2 separate regions of the Homo sapiens genome follow, and region 2 is linked to region 1. The links are contacts of gene promoters, found by promoter capture Hi-C in human tissues and cell types (Jung and others, 2019). All regions are on one chromosome and are shown on one strand. Each heading gives the region's core, a stretch centred on a gene start or on the middle of the fragment in contact. The rest is flanking DNA. Distances are from core to core; before and after follow the strand shown.

The links. Contacts are between HindIII fragments. The study calls those that stand out against the background at their distance.
Region 2: a contact is called between a fragment that was not itself captured here and the fragment with the promoter of EFCC1 in region 1, in 2 of the 25 tissues and cell types used here (H1 embryonic stem cells and adrenal gland).

What each region holds. Positions count from the first base shown.
Region 1 is chr3:128,995,995-129,003,764 of GRCh38, forward strand. EFCC1 (EF-hand and coiled-coil domain containing 1) reads left to right here and starts at 5,310. Exons shown (of 8, transcript NM_001377500.1): 1 at 5,310-6,330. The coding sequence starts at 5,635. It also overlaps a transcript of CFAP92 not described here. The HindIII fragment of the contact is 14,506 bases long and covers 2,981-7,770 here.
Region 2 is chr3:129,078,837-129,086,518 of GRCh38, forward strand. No RefSeq gene overlaps it. Among named protein-coding and RNA genes, the nearest start is that of GP9, 22 kb to the left of the region's middle. The HindIII fragment of the contact is 5,949 bases long and covers 824-6,772 here.

The DNA of each region.
Region 1 (7,770 bases), core at 4,060-6,559:
GAGTGCAGAGGAAATGACACTATGTGATTTCTGAGGCCAGGTCATATAAATTCCATCTACCTCTGCCCTGTTCTTTTGAGGTATAGTATTCATGCTAGGAATCCAGCTAGCATGTTGTGAGGAAGCCCAAGCAGCCATGTGAAATGGCCACATGAAACTGTTGTGACTGACGGTTCCCAGCCAATTGCAGCCTCAACCCCCAGACATATGAGAGTGCAAGACTTCAAATGATCCCAGCCCTCAGTCTTTGAGCCACCCTGGCTGACATTGAGGAACAGAAACAAGCTGTCTCCATCATGAGAAATTGTAGATTTATAAGCAAATTGTTGCTCTCTTAAACCACTAAGTTTTGGGGTGATTTGTTGTGCAATAAATAATAGGAACGGGAGCCATATTTTTAAATTACCACCAAGATTGTATTGCACAACCAGAATATGGAACCACTGCCCTGAGAGAGATGGTGTCTGGGTCAAGACCTAGGGCATCACAGGATGAAGTGAGGGCAAAGGTGTGCTACCCACTACTCAGGTATGAGACAGTGGTGGGTCTACAACCCTACCTCAGTGAAGATGGCTTCAGGGCTGGCAGATCAGAAGCAAAGGAAGGGGGGCTTCTGTTTCAGTTATCTGTTACTGAGTAAAAACCATCCCCAAACTTAATGGTGTCAAACAAACACTTGTTATTTCTCACCACTCCATGCATCAGCTGAGTAGTTCTCTGCTGGCCTCGCCTGGGCTCACTCCCTATGCTGTGCTCAGCTGGAGGACCAACATGGCTGGAAGCTGCCAGAAGTCCTCACTTGCATGTCTGGCAGTTGCTGCTGGCTCTTCGTGGGCCCGCTGGTTCCCCTCCATGGGTTCCCCCGCCCCCAGTGGTACACCAGCTTCCTTCTATGTGGTGCCTCATCTCCTCATAGCCCGGCCTGGCTTCCTCAGATGGCATTCTCAGAGCAGGGATCCCAGAGGGCAAAGAAGAAGTTGCAAGGCCTCTTGGGACCTAGGCGTGGAACCAGCACCATGTCACTCTGCTACATGCCATTAACCAAAGCAAGTCATGAGGCTGGCCCCACTTCAAGGGGATGAAGACATGGACTGTACATCTGGTAAGCAGAGGGACAAGCATCCAGGGGCAGGAGGTGTTCAAGGTCACTGAACAATCCATCCCTTCATCCTTACTCTGCCGGGTGGAGGGTTCCCAAGCTCCCACAGGCTATGTAGAGGCCTTCCTGAAGCTATCCCAAGACTCTGGCAGCTGGAAGCATATTGGGAATCAGCTACATACACCTTCTTCTTGCCCCTTCCCCATTTTTAACAGCTTTATTGAAGTATTTTTTATTTAATAAAATCCATCCATTTCAAGCGTAGAATTCAATGATTTTCAGTAACTTTACCTAGTGCTGTAATCATCATCATAAATTCATTTTAGAACATTTTCATCCCCCTAATAAGACTTCATGCACATTTATAATTAATCTCTGTTCCAACTCCCAGTCCTAGGCAACCATATCTACTTTGTTTCTAAAAATTGGCCTTTTCTAGACATTTCCTATAAATTGAGTCAGACACTGTGTTCTGGCTTTGTGACTGGTTTCTTTCACCTACCGTTATGTTTCCAAGGTTTATTTATGTTGAGGCATGTGTCAGTATTTCATTCCTTTTCATGACTGAATAATATTCTATTGTATGGACAGACCACAGTTTGCCTATCCATTCATCAGTTAATGGGCATTTGGCTTGGGCATTTAGACATTTATGAACAACGTTGCTATGAACATTCCCACACAAGTCTTTGTGTGGATGTGTTTTCATCTCTCTTGGGTCGATATCTAGGAGTGGAAGAGTTGGGTCGTATGGTCATTTTGTGATTAACTTCTTGAGAAACTGCCAAACTATCTTCCACAGGGGCTGCATCATTTTGTGTTCCCATCAACAACATGAAGTTTCCTGTTTCTCCAAATTCTTGACAAGATTTATTGCCTGTTTTATTCACTACAGCTATTCTCATGAGTATAATATAGTATTTCATCATAGTTTTCATGTGCATTTCCCTAACAAGAATACTGAGATTGTTTTATGCACATGTTGGCTATTTATACAACTTCTTTGGTGAAATGTCTGTTTGTATCTTCACCCACTTTTTGATTGGATTGTTTGTCTTCTTGTTACTGAGTTGTTAAGAGTTCATTGTAAATTCGGAATATAAGTCCTTTACTGGGCATATGTTTTACAAATATTTTCTCCTAGTCTCTTGTTCGTCATATTTTCTTAATAGTGTCTTTTGAAGTGCAAATGTTTTGAACTTTGATGAAGGTCCGATTCATCATTTTTTTCTTTTTTGGATCATGCATTTGGTGTCGTATCTAAGAAATCTTTGACTAACAACAGGCCTATTTTTAATAGAAGTAAAGCTTGGTGTCTGAACACTAAGCAAATCTACTAACCAAGACCCCTAAAAACCCAAAAGCTTTATGACACTGAAAATAATGGCCCAAGGACATTCCCAGACAGTTCTGGGCTCTGGATAGAACAACACAAGTTTCCAAAAAACAGGCTGATAATACCACAAGCTTATAAAATATGTATACTCCTTGGCCCAGTAATAAATCACTCAAGATATGGCACAAACTGTTCACAGTATGGTTTTTGCGGAGAAAAGCTGAAAACCACCTCAGTGGGCATCTGTGGGGGATGACAAAGCACCTTATAGTTCATCCCCAGGGAGCACAGAGCAGCCTCTGGAGCAGTGTCTGCAAAGAAACCACAGCCAAGCTGTTTACAAAGCTCAGTTCCTGTGCAAAGAAAGATCCCAATGGCGCCCTTTCCACTGTGCTTTTCATGTCAAGTTGAATGAGCTACGATTTGCACACTGTAAAATTCAGATGTACACAGTCATGCAACCACTACACCATGAAGATAGAGTATTTCAATCACTCCAAAAAGTTCTTTCATGCCCAAATACATAGAAAAGTCTGGAAATAAATACATCAGAAATACACAGTGATCCTCTCTTGGTGGCAGAATGGTGGATGATTTTTGCTTTTTAGCATTTTCCCGGACCTTTAAAAGACACTTTAAACAATATACTATTTGAAATGGCTCAAACAATACTGAACTGACTTCAGAAAATCATTTCTTTGCCACAGCCCTGACTCTCTCCCACACAGACACACGCCCATCCCCCCAGCTCATACAAAAGAACGCAAGGAGACCTCTGAGTTTGCTCACTTTGAACCTTAAACAAAAACCTTGTGGATGCAACCAGAATTATTTCAGAGGTGCCTGGTAACACCGCAGGGCAGACAGACAGGCCTGACAGCAAACCATTATCAACCCTTACTTCCCTGAGCTGTAGGGGAGTGGAGGCCGGCAACGGCTCCCAGCAAGACATTTAAAAGCTTTCTTTTCAATATTGACTGGCCCAGGAAAGCTACTGTTCAAAGGATTCCTTCACCAGCTGCAGGGATGGGGGGTGGGGAGGGTGTTGCACTCTTGCCTGGGCTACCAGCTCTTAGGGCTGACATGAAATAAAATCAGGTTCTTTTTTTTTTTTTTTTTTTTTTTTTGAGACGGAGTCTCGCTCTGTCGCCCAGGCTGGAGTGCAATGGCAGGATCTCAGCTTACTGCAACCTCCGCCTCCCAGGTTCAAGCGATTCATCTGCCTCAGCCTCCCAAGTAACTGGGATTACAGGCGCCTGCCACCACGCCCAGCTAACTTTTGGTATTTTTAGTAGAGATGGGGGTGGTTCACTATGTTGTCCAGGCTGTTCTCGAACTCTTGACCTCAGGCAATCCACCCGCCTCGGCCTCCCAAAGTGGTGGGATTACAGGCGTGAGCCACCGCGACCGGCCAAGAAAAAGAAACACATGAGAACATCTTAACAAAAGGGAAATACTGCAGTGTCTCCCATCTGCAGAAAGAACCACTGAATCCACTTATGAATCCCTCCATCTTCTTCTGTGCACTCACATACACATGTCCTAGTAGAAAATACTTAGTATTGTTTTGTGTGTTTTTGTTCTTGTTATGTAAGCATCAGTGTTGTGCATAATCAGCTTGTGGCTTGCTGTGTCCGCTCATCCTCGTTTGCTGAGTCCTAGCTGATTTGATGGACACCAGGTTGTCTCCAGTTTCTCACTGTAATAAACAATGATGCAGTGAACATCCTGTGCACAGTGGCTTTCGAAGGTAGAAGCCAAGAAGTGGACGTGATGTAAAAACTTTGTCAAATTGCCATTACTTTTATAATTAAAAACAAACCTAAAAGAATATGTCCAAAATGCTTGGGGAGAAGCCTCTAACTCCTTCCCAGCAGATATGTACTCTGGGCAAAGCCTTCAAGAACAAGTACGAATTTGCCAAATGGACAACGTGCTGATTCTGGGATACTGTGGCAGAGGAGACAGAATGCTATCGCTTTTCAAACGGCAAGATTTTACATTTAAACTCACAGAGTTATCCACAAGGCAAGATTCTGTCTCTGTCATAGCTAGGAACAGCTGAAGAGTCTGCCTCTTGCTCCAACATGGCTGGGTACCGTGGCTGGATAACCGTTCCCGGTGCAGGTAACAGGTGGACAATATCACAATATCACTGCACCCCTCTCGTGAAAAAGAAAGGGAACACAGTCTAGCACTCACCAGAGAAGCAGGTTTTTCTTCATCTTCCAGAAATGTGTTCTAAAACACCAGAAAAAAACATCAGCCAATCATCGACCTGTTAACCTAACCCCAGCTCAAGAGATGGAACTCGGATCCCATTGCCAAGTCAGCACCGGCAGGCACAAAGGTGGCAGGGCCGGGAGACACCACTTTCCCGAGAGTCCTATCCCCACCCCCAACAGGGATCGGGAGAGAGCAGTTAGCACAGGGCTCGTCTCAGATGGGCTTCTCACCAGCGGGGTGCCCCTAACCTAGACCCCTTGCCTCTCCAAGCCTGTTTCCCTCTCTTTCCCAGTTACTACTTGGGGCTCTTTGCACGGTCTATGGTGGCACAAGAAGTGGGTTCGGAAACCCAGTAGCTGAATTGAAGCGGAGGGGAGGCTTTTCCGCACCTACGGCTACAGGGCGGCGAGAGCAGGCTTGCCAGGCAACCCTCGAAAGGCCTTCCGGGAAGAGGGGGAAGAGTGACGCTTGGGTGTGGGGGCACATCCCCAGCAACCGGACGAGGCCGCCACCCCCAAGGCCCTCCTGGGCTTCGGATCCCGCGCCAACCCCTCGCCCAGGTCTCGGAGCGAACTCTCCGCGCCAGGCGGGCGGGGCGGAGGGAGGAGGGAGTTGAGAGTGGACGGCCGGGAGTGGGAGGAAAAGCGCAGACGCCAGGAACGCCCCGTGAGTGAGGAGAGGAGAGCGTGGGAGTCACGCGGAGAAGCCAGACCCAGACGCCGACCGGGCACTGGTGGCGCTGCCGGGGTCCCGGGGGTTCCTGGACCCCCTACCCCAGGCCCCTCCAAAGCAACTGGGGTAAACCAGACGCACTGTGAGGCCAGCGCAGCTGCTGGACACGGTCCCCGGCGCCGCTCCAACCAGACCGCGACCGCTAAGCCCCTCCTTTCGAGAAACTCTGGGGCCGCCCCTGGAAGTGGCGGGGCGAAGGGACCGGAGGAGGGACCGGAGGAGCGAGGCGCGCGGCGCAGCGATGGAGCCGGTCAGCACGGGCGCGGAGGCCGGCATGGAGGGCGCGGGAGGTGACCCGTACCGGCGACCTGCGCGGCGCACGCAGTGGCTGCTGAGCGCCCTGGCGCACCACTACGGGCTGGACCGCGGCGTGGAGAACGAGATCGTGGTGCTGGCCACCGGCCTGGACCAGTACCTGCAGGAGGTCTTCCACCACCTGGACTGCCGCGGCGCCGGCCGTCTGCCCCGCGCCGACTTCCGAGCGCTCTGCGCTGTGCTGGGGCTGCGCGCGGAGGGGGCCACCACGGCCGGGCAGGCAGCAGGTGACGGGAACTCCAGAGATGTGACCCCCGGGGATGCGGCCGCTGAGTTGGCCACGGACGGGGACTCAGATACCGATGAAGAGGCGCGCCTGGCGCTGCGCGCCGAGCCGCCGGAGCTCACCTTCCGCCAGTTCCACGCGCGCCTCTGTGGCTACTTCGGCACCCGTGCGGGGCCCCGGCTGCCCCGCGGCGCTCTCAGCGAGCACATCGAGACGCAGATCCGCCTGCGCCGTCCGCGCCGCCGCCGCCGCCCGCCCTGCGCGCCTGGCCCCGACAGCGGTCCTGACTGTGAGCGCGTTGCGCGGCTGGAGGAGGAGAATAGCAGCTTGCGCGAGTTGGTGGAGGACCTGCGCGCCGCGCTGCAGAGCAGTGATGCGCGCTGCCTAGCACTGCAGGTGCGCGCCGGCCACGAAGGGAGGGTGGTAACGCCCGGGAGAGGGCTCGAACTAAAAGCTGGCTGGCTGCGGAGCCCGACAGGACAGAGTCAGAGGAAGGGGAGACAGAGGGCAGCCCCACACCATCCCACTCCGCATCAGCACACTTGCATCTTGCCCCTGTTCCTCCCCATTCCACTCCAGTCCCCAACCCTATTCTTACCACCTATTCCATTCCTGAAAACCCCAATCACACTCAAACAACCATACCCCACTTTTCTGCTCCACCGCCACATCATCGCGTCTTGCCCCTTTAACCTAGGAATTGCACCTGTCTGGGTAGTCTCACATATTCCCTTTCAACAAGCATCTTTCTCTCTCCTTCCTGCCAGGCTTCTGGGAGGTTTAGGAGACAGAAGTGTGAAGAAGGCCCTGTCCTCACCTTTAGGGATATCCCTGCCTCCTGGGGTAGACTGACAGCTCCTTCTGTCAATCAGCAAAGACTTATGGGGCTCCCTGTGGGAGAAACAGAGACAAGTGAGAAACAGACAATGTGGCTCACACTGTGGATCAGGCACTCACGGGCCACCAAGTGCCTGCGGGAACCAGACCCGCTCTGGGCTATTGAGAAGAAACCATGGGGTGAGATAGGGACCCAGCCTTAGCATCTGGGAGCCGTCGACAAACACTTAAGCACTGTGCCAGCCGAGCACCAAGGGCAGTGCTGGGCCGCAGGGGTCAGAGGAGGAAAGGAACAGCCCCTACCCCAGGCGACAACAGGCCAGGAAGAAACTGACATTATATGACCCCGCCTTAGCTCAGGACACTGCAGAGTGCAGGGAAGTGGCAAGGTGTGGTTTTCAGTGTCAGTGTGCATGGAAGCCAGGGTGGAGGCGGGAAACTACTCCTCTGATGTGGAATCCCAAGTAACGTACTGGGAGCCATGGGATGCGCCTGAACGGTCTTCCGGCATCTCTCATGCTTGGTATTTATTGAGCACCTACTATGTGCCAGGTTTGTTTTAGGCTCTGGGAACACACCAGTAAAGACAGATAGAAACCACCCTCAAAAGCCTCTAGTGAGCAGGCACGGGGAGGGCTGGAAATGCCACTGGGGGGAGTCTAGGAGATGAGGAACCGCCACCCGGCAGGCTGAACGCCGCCAATACAGTAGGCCGAGAAGAGTCGCGAGGTTGGTACTATAGAGGGAACAGAATACAGGCGTCGTGTCTCAGTTTCCTTCAGTGAAAAAACGTTGGGGGGTGGGGGATGAGGAGGAATCAGAGCTTGGGCCTCCCTGGGGATGTGGCGAGGGTTAAAGGAGCTTGGACGCACCGGACCTAAGGGCCTGGCACCCGGAAGCAGACGGCGCAAGAAACGTGCTCAAGCGCTTCTGGGTGCAGAGGCATGGGGCCGCCGTCGTGGCGGGCGTTCGTCTGGTGCATCTGGCTGGGGCACTTAC
Region 2 (7,682 bases), core at 2,548-5,047, 81 kb after region 1:
GACTGGAGCCAGGCAGCACCTCAGGGCGTCAGTGCAACCGCACAGATATCCTATCCTATTCTGTTTTTGTTCAGACTTTTATAGGGATATAGATAGAATTTTATGCTGCTATTTGGGGTCTTTGTATCCCTGCTAATTAGAAAACAACTTTGAGGCCTAGTGCAGTGACTCATGCCTGTAATCCCAGCACTTTGAGAGGCCAAGGCCGGTGGATCACTTGAGGTCAGGAGTTCAAGACCAGCCTGGGCAACAACACAAAACCTCATCTCTACAAAAAAATCCAAAAATTAGCTGGGCATGGTGGTGCACACTTGTAGTCCCACCTACTCAGGAGGCTGAGGCAGGAGAATCGCTTGAACCCGGGAGGCGAAGGTTGCTGAGAGCCAAGATTGCACCACTGCACTCCAGCCTGAGCAAGAGAGTGAGATCCTGTCTCAAAAAAAGAAAAGAAAAAGAAAAGAGAAGAGAAAAGAGAGAAGGGAAAGGAAGGGAGGGGAGGGCAGGGGAGGGGAGGGGACAGGAGGGGAGGGGATGGGAGGCAACTTTGAGGCTTTCTGTTTACAAAGATTCCATAATAAAAAGGGAAGGCAGGCTCTGCGGTTCACCCAGCCTGCTGGGTTTGTACCTACCTGTCAGTCAATACAACCAAGGCCAGAGCCTGGAATACACTCTTCACCTGATGTCCTCCACTTCGGAAAAGCTCCATGGACTCCCATCATAACCTGAAGAATCATTCCTTCCATTGAGTTTAGAAAGTTGAATTGGCCAGGTGCGGTGGCTCATGCCTGTAATCCCAGCACTTTGGGAGGCTGAGGCGGGAGGATCTCTTGAGGCCAGGAGTTTGAGAGCGGCCTGGGTGACACAGTGAGACTCCATCTCTAAAAGAAGTTTTTTAAATTTGGTTTGTTAAAAAACAATGATAGCAAAATATTGTTGAGAACAGAAAGAAGGTTTGAATAAACAAAAAATGTACCCATTCATGATAGCAAGATTCAAGTCTCCCAGATGAACTCTAAATTCAGTTCATCCTATGAATATCTTGGCAAATTTCTTTCTGAGGAACTTAACAAAGGAAGAGATGAGGCTGACACCACCTGAAAGGCCTCATGAGCGATTTCAGCAGAAGGCTGGGTATAGCCAGAAGAGCATCTTCCAGAGTGTAAAAATCAAGGATTAAAATATAGAGACAAATCTCTAAATTTAACATTTTATGTGGGAAGCGATTTGGGTCTTACACACAGACCAAGTAAGTGGTCTTCAATATGTCTGAAGAACAAAGAGGAGGTTGGAGGTGTTATAAAAAGGAGAAATGGTACATACTGTTTTTCAGAAAGTTCATTGGCACCAGTAAAATCTGGGGACGCTGGCCAGCTCTGACTGGTGAGTGACAGCCAGTGAAACTCATCTTAGAGTTGCAACGGGTGGTATCAGTACCTATCAGATAAGACTGGCTTTGGCTGAGTGTGGTGGCTCACGCCTGTAATCCCAGCACTTTGGGAGGCCAAGGCGGATGGATCACCTGAGGTCAGGAGTTCAAGACCAGCCTGACTAACATGGTGAAACCCCATCTCTACTAAATACAAAAAATTAGGCGGGCGTGGTGGCTCATGCCTGTAATCTCCCAGCTACTTAGGTGGCTGAGGCAGGAGAATTGCTTGAACCCAGGAGACGGAGGTTGCAGTGAGCTGAGGTCGCGCCGTTGCGCTCCAGCCTGGGCAACAAGAGCAAAAACTCCATCTCAAAAAAACAAAACAAAACAAAAAACTGGTTTCAGGTTGGAGCAGACAGCCTCAGCAGCCAGGCTGCAGAGAATGACATTCCTGGAGCTGTGTTATGTGCCACCCTCCTGCCCCCCACCTCTGGACTCTGTTTTATTTGGGTGTGACAAGAGTGACCCAATTCATATGGTCAACTGTCACAAGAGACAACCATCACAGACAACTTGTGCTGTGGGGACGCCTCTGGAGCCTGCCCCAGGCTTCCAGCTACACTTGGCATATTGACCACATGGGGGAGAGGGGGTCTCCTCTCCCTACCCACACCCCACCAGAATTCCTTGGCAGTTATTTTTATTTTTTAAATTTAATTCAATTTAATTTCTATTTATTTATTTATTTATTTTTGAGACACAGTCTCATTCTGTCACCCAGGCTAGAGTGCAGTGGCACGATCTGGGCTCACTGCAACCTCTGATTCCCAGGTTCAAGCGATTCTCCTGCCTTAGTCCCCCGAGTAGCTAGGATTACAGCTGTGCACCACCATGCCTGGCTAATTTCTGTATTTCTAGTAGAGTCAGGGTTTCACCGTGTTGGCCAGGCTGGTCTCGAACTCCTGACTTCAGGTGACCTGCCCACCTTGGCCTTCCAAAGTGCTGGGATTACAGGCATGAGCCATCGCATCTGGCCTATTTTTAAAAAGGGATAAATCCACAAGGACAAAGGGAATGAGGGGAGGTGACTGTGGGGAAGAGAGGCCAACATGCTTCTGTGGAGCGGAGAGTGGATGGAGGCAGTGGCCACTTCCACAGATCACAGTGTGGCTGGCAGGGGGAAACCTGAGGAGAAGCAGCCACTGTGCCCCCAGGATCCCCAGGGGTCAGCACTCAGATGCTGCGGATCGCCACAGATCACGAGAGAGGCCTGAAAATCAGGGCTTGCCTGGAAGTCTAGCTCCCAGCATTTGTAACCCTCAGGCCCCTCCCTGATTTCTGCATCTAGGGACCACCGCTTCACCCCGTCCAAATGGAAATTTGAGGGGCAGGGGTTCATTTTTTAAGAAATTGAAAAGAGAACCCCAGCCTTGGGAAAGCAGGCAGAGTGGAGGGCAAAAATTTGGTACAGGGCCAAAAATAGACGGGAACGTCCACAGTTCCTGCCGCAGGACCCTGGCTTCCTTCCTGACTGGCTACCCGGCGCACGCAATGGGGTTTCTCCCATCCCCACCACCCCCAGGAAGGAGATTAGAAGATCCTGTGCTAGAGAAATGGAAATGCTTCAGGGAAAAGATCTCTTCTCTCTGGCTACAGACATTAGGGGACCCCTCCCCAGTGGAAGAGCAGCTGGGCCCAAAATCACCCAACAGGGAGAAGTCCACCCATTGATAAGCCCTATCTGGGCACTCAGGCTTCCAGGAATCCCCAGACCTGAGGAACAGCCCTCACATGGAAGACAATGTTTAAAACAACAGGAGAAAGGAACGCCAGGCAAAGAACAGGAGAGAACTTAGAAGTTTGTTTTAAGAACAACACAACCCTCAAGGGCTCCTTGGAGTAATGACTGACTCCAGGTCTGCAGCGGAGAATGTATGACATGTGCCAGGAAGCAGAGGGGTGTGCGGGACTCGAGGGTCTCATCCAGGGACTCGGTGCCATCTGGAAAGGACTCAGCGGCCAGAGTCCAGCGGGCTCACTGGCATCACACAGGTAACAGCTTCAGTGGACATGTAGAAAGCCACGATGACCCACACCCCGCCCAGGAAGGAGGAAGGTGGGAGGAGGAGAAGAAAAGAGAGGAGGAAGAGGAAGAGGAGAGAAAGAAGAAAGGGAAGAAAGTTTCTGCCTGTTGGGGTTTAAATCCTCCTTACCTTAACCACATTAAGGGTCCTTTAACCACCTTAAGGGTCCCTTAACCGTCTCATATCCAGACTCTAGTTTTTTTTTTTTGTTTGTTTTTTGAAATGGAGTCTTACTCTGTTGCCCAGGCTGGAGTGCAGTGGCACGATTTAGGCTCACTGCAAAATCTGCCTCCTGGATTCAAGCAATTCTCCTGCCTCAGCCTCCCAAGTAGCGGGGATTATAGCCACCCGCCACCACACCAGCTAATTTTGTATTTTTAGTAGAGACGGGGTTTCACCATGTTGGTCAGACTGGTCTCGAACTCCTGACCTCAGGTGATCCACCTGCCTCGGCCTCCCAAAGTGCTGGGATTACAGGCATGAGCCACCACGCCAGGCCCAGACTCTAGTTTTTACATCAGTCATAACATTTCAAATTTCTATATTTTGGTGTTCTGAGTCGTTCAGTGAATACTGCATCATAAGCATTTTTAAATGTTATATTGTTTTCATGACTCTTTCAGAGTTTCTTTCAGAGCTAACATAATATATACTTCTTACAGAAAACTGTAAAGTTTAGACCAGGCCCAGTGGCTCATGGCTGGAACCCAGCACTGTGGGAGACTGAGGTGAAAGGATCACTCGAGCCCTGGAGTTCAAGACCAGCCTGGGCAACATAGCAAGACCCCATCTCTACAGAAAATATAAAAATTAGCCAGGTGTGGTGGCGCACACCTGTGGCCCCAGCTACTCGGGAGGCTGAGGTGGGAGGATGGCTTGATCCCGGGAGGCGGAGGTGGCAGTGAGCTGAGATGGTGCCACTGCACTCCAGTTTGGGTGACAGAGCTAGACCCTGTTTCAAAAAAAAAAAAATTTCCTTCAGGGAGATCCCTATAAGGGGTGTTATTTTCAGAAATGTTCATTTAGAATTATGTCCATGTTGTTGAATCTAATCCTGATTATGTGGTAGCTGTCGCTGCAGCCACCGTCTCACCCTCAAATACCCAATGTCCACTCTCAGGATTTCCAGGGTTAAGGCCCAGTCCCTGGAGCCCAGATGCACAGGGTTCTAATCTTACCTCTGCCACTGACTAGATGTGCAATTTGAGGCAAAGCACCTAAACTGTCTTATGAATTCTTGTACAATGCTGAGAACAATACAAGTTTACAGAAACCTCGCAATAAATACCAGCCCCCATCACCTTGGGTGGCTGTAGCCGCCGATCTGATAGAAGTTTGAAGATTCTAGACGTGGAAATTGAGCAGCCTTCAGCCGTACATCTACTCACACCTGACAATGCACCATATTTGGCATCTATATGTGAATTTATGTCTTTTCTGCCCAGAGAGTCTACAGCGTCAAGTTGGTCAAGGATCAAGAAGAGATCAAGGACCATATTAGGCCTTAGACAAGGTAACATGAAGAAAATCAACAACAACAACAAAAACATGATTAGGGATGACAAGCTTGCATGTTTCCAGGCAGAGTAGCGCTTCGATGATGAAAGTGCCCTGGGGAGAGTGTCTGGGTGTCAGGGTGATGCAGGGGTCCTGCTGACTCCATTCATGGCTGACTCCATTCATGGCGCTGTCTCTGGCTATGGGATGGAGTCTGAGCCTTGCTGAGGAGCAAGCCATGAGCCTTTTTTTTTTTTTTGAGACGGAGTCTCGCTCTGTCACCAAGGCTAAAGTGCAGTGGTACGATCTCGGCTCACTGCAAGCTCCGTCCCCCGGATTTATGCCATTCTCTTGCCTCAGCCTCCCAAGTAGCTGGGACTACAGGTGCCCGTCACCAGGCCTGGCTAATTTTTTTGTATTTTTTTTTTTAGTAGAGACGGGGTTTCACCATGTTAGCCAGGATGGTCTCGATCTCCTGACCTCGTGATCTGCCCGCCTCAGCCTTCCAAAGTGCTGGGATTACAGGCGTGAGCCACTGCGCCCAGCCGCTGTGAGCCCGTTGACCTTGAAGTCTGCAGATGAAGTTGGCACTTGTAGAAAGGAAGGAAAAGACACTTGACCAAGACATAAATGGATAACATCCTTCAGGCCAATGGAAGAAACCAAAAATTCTAGGATGTCAGGGCCTGACCCTGGGCCATGCTTGTGCAGTGAGCAGGCTGTGTTGACCAGAGTTCCTCGGTCATGTGCACACAATGAGGATCCCCCTGGGGATCTTCTTAAAATTCAGATTCTGACTCAGGAGGTCTGGGGTAGAGGCTGAGGTTCTGCATTTTTGTATAGGCTCCTAGGTGATACCCACGCTGCTGGCCCACGGACCACAAGTGGAGCAAGGCAGGAGCAGACAGGCCCTACTCACCCGGCTCCAGGGAGCTCCCTCGGGGCCACCTGGCCACACTCTTCCCTCTCCCGGCCTCCTCTGCCATGTGCTGGCTTCTCAATGGGCCACACCTCTCCTGCTTGCCACCAACCAGCACAGACTGTGGAGCTTCCTGGCAGAGTGAAGGGCCAGAATACAGCAGACCCAACTGTTGTGCTAAGAAACAAATCTTTTTTTTTTTTTTTTTTTTTGAGAGAGTCTCACTCTGTCGCCCGGGCTGGAGTGCAGTGGCGCCATCTTGGCTCACTGCAAGCTCCGCCTCCCGGGTTCACGCCATTCTCCTGCCTCAGCCTCCCGAGTAGCTGGGACTACAGGCGCCTGCCACCACGCCCAGCTAATTTTTTGTGTTTTTAGTAGAGACGGGGTTTCACCGTGTTAGCCAGGATGGTCTCAATCTCCTGACCTTGTGATCCGCCCACCTCGGCCTCCCAAAGTGCTGGGATTACAGGGGTGAGCCACCTCACCCAGCCGAAACAAATCTTTTAAAATCTGATATGAAAGGGAAACCTCCTTGCCCAAGTGTGGCAAGGACAGGACCAGATCCCAGGAGCCTAGGTGGGGATGAGCCCGACCCACCACGGCCTCCGTAGCCAGAGCTGTAGACAGGGTTGCTTGCAGTGGGCCGCACCGTGGCCCGCTGAAAGCACACAGTGGACACGAGCTGAGTCCACAGCTTTCTCTGAGCTGGGACTTAGCCCTCCAGTGGGGAACCATGGTCAGCGGCTGCAACCCCTGGGCAAGATGGGGCCTGGCCTCCTGCCCTCTGCAGGGTCATAGGAGTGTCTGGGAGCTCAGGGTCAGGGCCAGATGGCTGTTCCTGGGGCCTGGGGCTCCAGCTCAGGATGTTTGGGAACAGGAACTCTTGGCTTGGAGAAGCCCATTACACCACAGGAGGCCTGAGATGGTCGGTCTGCGGGGAGCAGCTCAGACTGGGGGTGGCAGAGCAGCGTGTGGCTGTGTGTGGCCAGGTCAGGGGAGAGTGGCCAATGCTGGGCCCTCTCTAAGGAGCCCGAGGGCCACAAGGACCGTGGAAGAGGTCTTGAGTGAGGGAGTCGGGACCTTGTGGCTAGGGGTCTTGCTTGAGGATGCTCTCTGCAGCCACAAGGAGATGCCCAGGCAGGACCAGGTCAGGAAGAGGCTGGGGCAGAGGCCCAGGCAGGAGGTGGGTGGGCTGGGTGGGGATGGGAGTAGCCAGGGTGAAGGTGAGGACAGGGAAGGGGCCCCCCTGCCTCCTGGCTTCCCTGAGGGCGGGGCTGGCCAATCCCAGCGGCAAATGTGTGCAGGGAGGAGTGGGGTCCAGGTTGGAGCTTTGGGAGCCCTTGGAGGCAGCAAGGCAGACTCACCTCTGGGACCCAGCACCCAGCTTGGGCGTGCAGGTGGGGGCTCAGAAGTGAACATCGTGGGGCTTTGAGCAAGACTCTCTGGGATCCAGTCTCAGCTTCCATACTTTGAAGTCAAGGAGTGGACCTGTGCTGTCTGTTTGCTCTGGGGTCTGGGCAGTCCTGTTGTTTGGGTAGAGGCCTCAGAGGGCCCTAGGGACAGACTGACCCAGGTCTGAGCCTCTTGGGAGCGTGCGGATGGCCGGGCTCAGACAGGCCTGGTTATGGGTTTGACTTACAAGGGGCACACGCGCACTCTGGTGCTTCCTGGCATTCAGAAGAGAAGAGGGAGTTCAGACATCAGGCCTTCCTTCTCCCTGGGAAGGATGGCAGGTGCCTGGAGCCAGGCCTGTCTTGAGAGCCAGGGCTCTGGGTCTTCCTCCTCCAGTGCCCTGTTCCAGGCCTTCAGTGCA